Linked DNA regions of Homo sapiens: region 2 is linked to region 1. The links are contacts of gene promoters, found by promoter capture Hi-C in blood cells and fetal thymus (Javierre and others, 2016). All regions are on one chromosome and are shown on one strand. The core of a region is centred on a gene start or on the middle of the fragment in contact, and the rest is flanking DNA. Distances in the headings are between cores, read along the strand shown. Region 1 holds the start of KRT12 (keratin 12). Region 2 has its middle 4.8 kb from the start of GAST.

What was found. Contacts are between HindIII fragments. The CHiCAGO score rates a contact against its expected background, and 5 or more counts as called.
Region 2: a contact is called between a fragment that was not itself captured here and the fragment with the promoter of KRT12 in region 1, in 1 of 17 cell types (non-activated CD4 T cells). The highest score is 5.3, in non-activated CD4 T cells.

The regions. Positions count from the first base shown.
Region 1 is chr17:40,865,200-40,869,587 of GRCh38, reverse strand. It overlaps KRT12 (keratin 12), which reads left to right and starts at 2,365. Exons shown (of 8, transcript NM_000223.4): 1 at 2,365-2,968; 2 at 3,351-3,433. The coding sequence starts at 2,402. All of the region lies in intron 1 of LOC105371777 (a long non-coding RNA gene), which reads right to left. The HindIII fragment of the contact is 7,860 bases long and covers 1-4,388 here.
Region 2 is chr17:41,705,376-41,709,763 of GRCh38, reverse strand. No RefSeq gene overlaps it. Among named protein-coding and RNA genes, the nearest start is that of GAST, 4.8 kb to the left of the region's middle. RefSeq lists enhancers at 1,068-1,595, 3,920-4,388. The HindIII fragment of the contact is 527 bases long and covers 1,964-2,490 here.

The DNA of each region.
Region 1 (4,388 bases), core at 1,116-3,615:
TCCAATAATTTTGCTGAGAAATTAATCTTTACCAGATAGATTCAATCTCCACTTTAAAATGTATAGAAAGCCTCCTTTTTGGGAATTAAACATTGGGCACTCATGGACATATAGAATGCCAACAATAGACACTGGGAATTACTGTGGGGAGCAAAGGTTAAACAACTATTGGGTACTATGCTTACTACCTGGGTGATGAGATGAGTCGTACCCCAAACCTCAGCATCATGAAATATACACACGTAACAAACCTGCACATGTACCTCCTGAATCTAAAATTAAAGTTGAAATTTTTTAAAAAAAATCCAGTAGTGGTAAATAAATAAAAATAAAAATCTTCCTTTTTATGAAAGGTATGTATTATTAAATCAAATAAGAATTCAATTTTATTTTAGAAATCTAGAATACTTGTGATATTTTTAAAACTTTTCCTTAGAATAAAATAAAACGCAGAATCCAAATATACCAAATTGAAAAGGAGTTTTAGTGGCCATCTATAAGCAAACAGAGGTCCCTGATGGAGAAATGAAGGCCCTGTTTCCCACGAGGTAGGAAATGTATCATTACAATGATTTTAATGTATTTTATTTCAATAAATCCATTCTAGTCAAAATACATATATGTCTATAGCACACACAGTCAGTGTATACCTTATTAATAAAATTCAGTATAAACATCTTTGCAAAAAAACTGTTATTTACACCCAGAAATTTTATTTCCTATCATCAAATACAGAGCAAACTGAATTTAGAAATCTGAATCCAACAAAGGATTTCGAAGAATCCACAATCCATGTTCTGTACCCAATTATTAAAGTTCAAGTGATAGATAAGTATATAATCTTAAGAGAAAAGCAGATTATAAAATCTTATATTGAATCAATTATGTTCAAAAATGTATATAAAATACTCATATATACATACATCTTCTTTATGTTTTCTGCATCTTCTAAATTTCCTACTATAAATACATAGAGAGCTATATTTAAAAAAAAACTATAGAACTATTTTGCAATGAGACATGTAGAGAATTGGGCCATCATCTCAAAGAAAACATGTAAAAGAAAAATCCTTATTCCTTCTTATCCAATCAAAATGCTCACAATTTAAATTCCTAAGGGAATTCCACCACCCTGGAATTGTACTACTCGGTTTCCAGGTATCTACAACTCTCTCTGAAAGCAGGCTTCTTTCAAGTTAATGCATTTCCTGTAAGAACGTTAGTTCTCATGTTCAATATATAAGCCATATCAATTTCAAAGATAAATAATATACCAAACAAGAAAGTATAAGAACTTTATGTCTTAAAAATTAAAGATACTGGATATAATTCCTTGAAGCACGCTTTGCAAAGTTTTCACAACAAAGTTTAAAATATAACATTTAATTTATTCTATATTGTAAAATTTATCCTTTTTCATCATAGCAGTCAACTGAAATGGTTCACTAGCCTCTTAAACTTGGGGTTTTAATCATTTCTTAATTTGAACTGTGTTTCCACTTTCTCCTTATTGATAATGGCAACAAAATCTGAAGTGTTTACACAATCCATTCAACTAGTCAACACATTTATTGAGCAACCATTACAGGCAATATCTGTTGAAGGAATAAACATAGTAAATGCTGAGTGTAGAGCAGTGAGCAATCAGACAAGGTAAAACTGCTAAAACAACTATAATAAACTCTACTATAAACAACTGTACTCAAAAATAGTACTTTTCCAAGTTGAAGAATAAGAGGGAAAAGAAACATGCAACATCCTAAAGCCAAGGTTTTAAAATCCTTGAAAATGCAAATTCTAGTATCCATCTGGAAAATATATTTATTCTCCACCTTTCACCAGTGCATTTCACAGCTGCTTCTGAAGCTGTATTCCACTAAAAGGTATACTTGATCATGACTGGATTTTACATTGGATTGGTTTTTCCAAAGGAAACAAATGGTTTACACTGGATTTTCCAAAGGAAACAAACAGAAAAGATCAGGGAAGAACTTAAAAAAGCATAAGGTTTAGGAAGAAGTATTTAACGTATCCATTCAGCAATCGCTCATTATCTTCCTACTGTGAACAAGACGCTAGGCAGTGCTGGGAATACAGGCAACAGACTAATTTGGAGAAGAAAAATTCCTTATGACAAGCAGACTCTACTCCACCCAGCTTTCTTTTTCATATAACAAATATTTAATGGAAATGATTATTCGATTATTTCTGTATCAATGAATTTTCATTATACATAAATCATTCACTTGTTGAGCTGGCCAAAAACCTGGGGGGAGGATCCAATTTTGAGTGGAGAAAGTGAACTTTTCAACTGCGACACCCATCTTGCAGCCTATATAAGTTTAGCTTTCTGGCTTGCTGGCACAACTTCCTCTCCAGTTGTGGCCACCTTCCCCAGGCCATGGATCTCTCCAACAACACCATGTCACTCTCAGTGCGCACCCCCGGACTGTCCCGGCGGCTCTCCTCGCAGAGTGTGATAGGCAGACCCAGGGGCATGTCTGCTTCCAGTGTTGGAAGTGGTTATGGGGGAAGTGCCTTTGGCTTTGGAGCCAGCTGTGGGGGAGGCTTTTCTGCTGCTTCCATGTTTGGTTCTAGTTCCGGCTTTGGGGGTGGCTCCGGAAGTTCCATGGCAGGAGGACTGGGTGCTGGTTATGGGAGAGCCCTGGGTGGAGGTAGCTTTGGAGGGCTGGGGATGGGATTTGGGGGCAGCCCAGGAGGTGGCTCTCTAGGTATTCTCTCGGGCAATGATGGAGGCCTTCTTTCTGGATCAGAAAAAGAAACTATGCAAAATCTTAATGATAGATTAGCTTCCTACCTGGATAAGGTGCGAGCTCTAGAAGAGGCTAATACTGAGCTAGAAAATAAAATTCGAGAATGGTATGAAACACGAGGAACTGGGACTGCAGATGCTTCACAGAGCGATTACAGCAAATATTATCCACTGATTGAAGACCTCAGGAATAAGGTAAGATCTCTTTTGGAGGCGCTTTGGGAATTTTTTTTTTCCTTTTTACCATTACAATGTTTTACAGTGATAATCACCTACAACTTTGATATTTTCCAATTTAGCTGTACTTGCAGCAATTTTCTCATCCCAGGTTGTTTCACTCCACTTTATCATTTACTAAGAAATGATTGTATTTCCATTATCTTTCTGTAGGAAATCTGCATTTCTTTACTTCTCAATATTATTTTATACAGATATTGTCTTAGAAAAATGAAACTGTCTTAAACTCTAAATAAAACAGCATTTAATATCACCATTTTCACCTTTGTGTCAAAAATATATTTGTATAATACTAGTCTTTTAGGGCTTCAATCTTGTGTGTGTCCCTCTCTTTTGCCAGATCATTTCAGCCAGCATTGGAAATGCCCAGCTCCTCTTGCAGATTGACAATGCGAGACTAGCTGCTGAGGACTTCAGGATGAAGTGAGTCGAATAAACTGAAGATCATGGGCGTGTCCCACCATGTCTTCTGTCCTACTGTCCTGCCTTCATTGATATAAAATCTTCTGAAGTTCACATACTCCATATATTTACTGTTTTGGTAAATTCACATAGGGTGTTCTAGAAAGTAATTAGAATCTAATGCAATTCAGATTAAATGTCCTTAAATTATAAGTTACTTAAACCCAGGGCTATGGATCACGATATTTGTAGTGTGCTATTGACTCAACTCATGATGTGACTGACACCATAATCCTACCAGTGTCCTAAACCTCAATTTTCTTTTTTTGTTTTTTGTTTTTTGTTTTTGAGATGGAGTCTCGCTCTGTCACCCAGGCTGGAGTGCAGTGACGCGATCTCGGCTCACTGCAACCCCTGCCTCCCAGGTTCAAGTGATTCTCCTGCCTCAGCCTCCCGAGTAGCTGGGATTACAGGCGGCTGCCACCGTGCCCAGCTAATTATTGTATTTTTAGTAGAGACGGGGTTTCACTATCTTGGCCAGGCTGGTCTCAAACTCCTGACCTCATGATCCACCCGCCTCTAAACCTCAATTTTCAATGTATCAACCATTGTTTTCCTGATGACACATACAATGGAAAGATTAACCATGTACTAATTTTTATATTCCTTCCTCCTTTTCCATGCTCAACTCTCCCAGATATAGGTAAGAAATACTAATTTCCTTTTTGCTTCACAAAATTTCTACACAGGAAGTTGCAATGGCCATGGTTCTGAACCTGTAAAATCTTAGTCAAAGCCACTAAAGAAGTATCAGTGTTTTAAGTTAAATCATGAAGAACGTTAAGCAAAAAGAGTAACTTATTTTCAACGGCTTTTAGAAATTCCACTTAGAGAGGGGCTGCTGCTATTTACAGCCACGGCAGCCAGCCAAAGGGAAAATTATTCCCTGGGATGCTGTGGTATTGGGATTCATCGC
Region 2 (4,388 bases), core at 978-3,477, 840 kb before region 1:
AGGAGTTCGAGACCAGCCTGAACAACATGGTGAAACCCCGTTTCTACTAAAAATACAAAAATTAGCTGGGCGTGGTGGCACATGCCTGTAATCCCAGCTACTTGGGAGGCTGAGGCACGAGAATTGCTTGAACCCAGGAAGTGGAGGTTGGAGTGAGCCAAGATTGTGCCATTGCACTCCAGCCTGGGTGACACAGTGAGACTGTCTCAAACAAACAGACAAACAAAAGAGAATATCGCAGGTATTTAATCCATTTTGCGTCTTCTCCCCCATCCTCTCTGGGTCTCAATTAACCACATTTGGAAATAGGAATCATTCATTTGTACCTCATAGGGCTGCAGTGAAGGGAAGAGGTGACAAGGTCTGTGCACACGCTTTATACACTTGGGGGAGTTCTCCTTCCCCAAGGCTTAAAGGAGGGTAATTCCCTAAGCATATCACTCTGTGAATCCAAGGGTTTCCCTCCTGCCAGCTGTGACTCAGAGGGACCTCAGCCCAACTGCCACTGAAAGAGGCAGCAGGGATAGAGTCTATGGAAGCTGGACCTCCTGGTGTACAGGGGGTTTTGGAACTGGTGAGGCCAGGGTTTGAATCATGGCTCTAACACCGACTAGCTGGGTGAGCAGAAAATTCAATTTCTGGGCCTACCAAATTGAAGACCAGATCCCAGACCTTGGGACCCATCTCCGTCCCCCTCGAGGGTGCAGGTGTGTGGGCCCTGCCCCTGTCATCACAACGATAACAATGCCGTGTACCAGGAACTGATAAGCTCTTAGCATGAATGAATGCAATCACTCTTCACCATGATCCTAGGACCTAAGTGCTAGTGTGAACCCCTTCTTCAGAAGAAACTGATGGGTACGGGGGCTTACGCCTGTAATCCCAGCACCTGGGGAGGCCGAGGCCGGCAGATTACTTGAGCCCAACAGTTGAAGACCAGCCTGGGCAACATGGCAAAACCCCATCTCTACAAAAAATACAAAAATTAGCTGGGTGTGGTGGTGCGTGGCTGTGGTCCCAGCTATTTGGGAGGCTGAGGTGGGAGGATTGCTTGAGCCGGGGAGGTGAGGTTGCAGTGAGCCATGATTGTGCCACTGTACTTGGGAGACAGAGTGAGACGCTGTCTCAAAAAAAAAAAAAAAAAAAAAAAAGAAGTAGAAACTAAGGCTTAGACAGGTGAAGTAATCCCCATCCTGAGTCCACACACCAAAAAGGAGAGGTGGGTCTGAAACTCAGGTCTCTATCCTCCCAGTAGGAATGTGGCAGGCAGAACAATCATGTCCCCAAAGATGTTCCTGCCCCAATCCTTGGAACCTGTGAATATGTGATTACATAACAAAAGAGACGTTGCAGGTGTGATTAAGGTTACTGGCTTTAAAATAGAGAGCTTATGCCAAGTGCAGTGGTGCATGCCTGTAGTCCCAGCTACTCTGGAGGCTGAGGCAGGAGGATCACTTAAGCCCAGGAGTTTGAGACCAGCCTGGGCAACATAGTGAGACCCCTGTCTCTGAAAAAAAAAATTAGGGAGTTTATGCTGGATTATCTGACTGGGCCCAGTGTAATCACATAGCCCTTAACTTTCTTCAGCTAGAGGCAGAAGAGATGTGGCTGAAGGTCAGGTCGGAGAGCTGGAGTTATGAGGACTCCACAAGCAATTGCTGGTCTGAAGATGGCAGGAGGGCAACAGGACGAGGAAAGCAGTGGCCTTGAGGAGCTGAGAGGTTCTCCACCGACAGCCAGGAAAGAGGAATGTCAGCCCCGCAACTACAAAGAATGAAATCTGGCCAACAACCTGGATGAGCTTGGAAGTGGATTCATCCCTAGAGCCTCCAGAAAGAAATGCAGCCCTGCCGACCTGATTGTGGCCTTGGGAGATCCTAATCAGGGGACCCCGTGAGCCACTCTGTACCAGGACTTCTGACCTACAGAACCGCGAGAGAATAAATTGCTGTTGTTTTAAGCTTCTAAATTGTGGTGACTTATTATGGTAGCAATCAAAAATGGATACAAGGGATCACAGCCTTGTGAAGGTTTCTGTTTAGTAAAAACTGGCCCAGCATGAATTTCCATGTAAATTTTCAAATACAAAGAAGGGAGCTGTTCTTTGAGTTATTCTGACCATCCGAATATTCCAAATTCATTCCAATTACTGAGCACCTGCTGTGAGCTAGGGTACAGATGAGGCTACTTGGGGATAAGAGGTGAATATGACAGCGCTGGGTGCAGCGGCTCACGCCTGTAATCCCAGCACTTTGGGAGGCTGAGGTGGGTGGATCACTTAAGTTTGGGAGTTCAAGACCAGCCTGACCAACATGATGAAACTCTGTCTCTACTAAAAAATACAAAATTAGCCGGGCATGGTGGTGCACGTCTGTAATCCTGGCTACTTGGGAGGCTGAGGTGGAAGAATTGCTTGAACATGGGAGGCAGAGGTTGCAATGAGCTGAGATTGTGCGATTGCACGCCAGCCTGGGCAACAAGAGTGAAGCTTTGTCTCAAAAAAAAAAACAGGTGACTATGACAGGACAGACCCTTTCATTGCTTTGGTGGAGTTTAGATTCTAGGGGCATAAAAGAGTAACACACGGCCGGGTGTGGTGGCTCACGCCTGTAATCCTAGCACTTTGGGAGGCCAAGGTGGGCAGATTGCCTGAGCTCAGGAGTTCAAGACCAGCCTGGGCAACATGGTGAAACCCTGTCTCTACTAAAATACAAAAAAAAAAAAAAAGCCGGGCGTGGTGGTGTGTGCCTGTAGTCCCAGCTACTTGGGAGGCTGAGGCAGGAGAATTGCTTGAACCTGGGAGGCAGAGGGTGCAGTGAGCTGGGATCGTGCCACTGCACTCCAGCCTGGCGACAGAGTGAGACTCTGTCTCAAAAAAAAAAAAAAAAAAAAAAAAAAAAAAAAAAAAAAAAGAGTAACAGAAAAACAAGGGTCCCCTGTGAAGGAGACTGTTCCCTGAGGAGGGAGAGGCTTCTCAGTGGACCCAGGCACACTCCTGCCTGCCAGGGCTGGCTTTGGGAAACAGATCACTATTGATGAGCTGCAAACCGTTGTCAGGGAGGCAGTGCCTTGGCTTCCTAATTGGTTATTGATGGCAGAAAAGGAAGAGCTTGATGACGACTCAATCATTCTGGCCCAGGCAACCAGGGCTTTGGAGGATGTGGTAGTTCTGGGGACAAACAGTGACACCTGGAAGGTGTTTGCATCAATGAGGGCATCCATGATCCCCCCTGGGGTAGGGGGCTAGGTAGGGGGAGGTGGGTTCTTGGGTTCTGGCCTCAGCTGCTGTCTGAGAGTGGTGACATGGCAGGGCCAAGAGGGCAGCCTGCAAGCTGCTTGCAGACTGGGCTGGAGAGGCTGCCCACCACCCCTGGGCCCAGGCTGGGCTGTCAAGGACAGAGAGTAGTGGCTACCCTTACTCTGGCTTCCGCTTCTCTCCTGAGCCTCCTCTCTCCTTTTCTCCTCTGATGCCCACCTGTGCCTTCGAAGCAGTGGTTCTCAGCCCAGGCTTTGTATTTGGATCACCTGGCCTCAAGTGATCCTCCCTCCTGGCCTCCCAAAGCCCTGGGATTTATAGGCATGGGCCACCACGCCTGGCCTAACAGTGGTTTTAACTGGGAAAAATAATCCTAAAGGCCCCTCTGTGAGAGGATGAGAGGAGTCTTTATTCGGGTGTGTTCCAGGCTGAATGGCTCATCCCCGGCCCAACAGGTAGGAGGTGAGGGAGCTGAGTTGGGGAACCCCCGGGTCTTGGACTCCATGTGCTGCTGCCTCTTCTCGGCCCACAGCTTCCCATCCCACCCTCTCCAGAAGCCTCGCTCCTGCTGAATCTGTCTTCACTGTGACCTCCAGCTCCTCCACTGTCTGGCTCCTCCCAGCCCGCCTACCCCTCCCAGGGTTTGTCATCTCAGTTCTGTGTGATGCACATAGATTGCTGCCCCTGTCCTGCTTCTGAACCTGCCAGGCTGGTCCCAGGTCCCTGACAGGCCACCCCGACCCCTTCCTCAGCTCCTGCCACTCCCTGCAAAAACCGACAGGAAGTTTCCGAAAGTGACCAGTTGATTCAATTGCAAATTAATATTCTGCAGCTTGGTTGTTACTGGCAACTGTGGTGAATCATTTCTCTTTCATTCCCAAGGTCATTTGACGTCAGCCCCCTTTTCCCCACCGTGAACACAGCTGCCTAAGTCCCGCTTCCGTCCTTTCCTCCTTTCCTCCATCGCTGGAGGTTCTGTCACCCCATTCAGTGTCAGCCCCTCCACCAGGGCCCATCATCCCAGACCCTCCTGCCTGCTTAGAGACCGTGTGCTTTCACTCTTTCATTCACTCATTCATCCATGCATCTGTTTACTCAACACAAATTTTCCAAGTGCCTGCTTTGTGTCAGG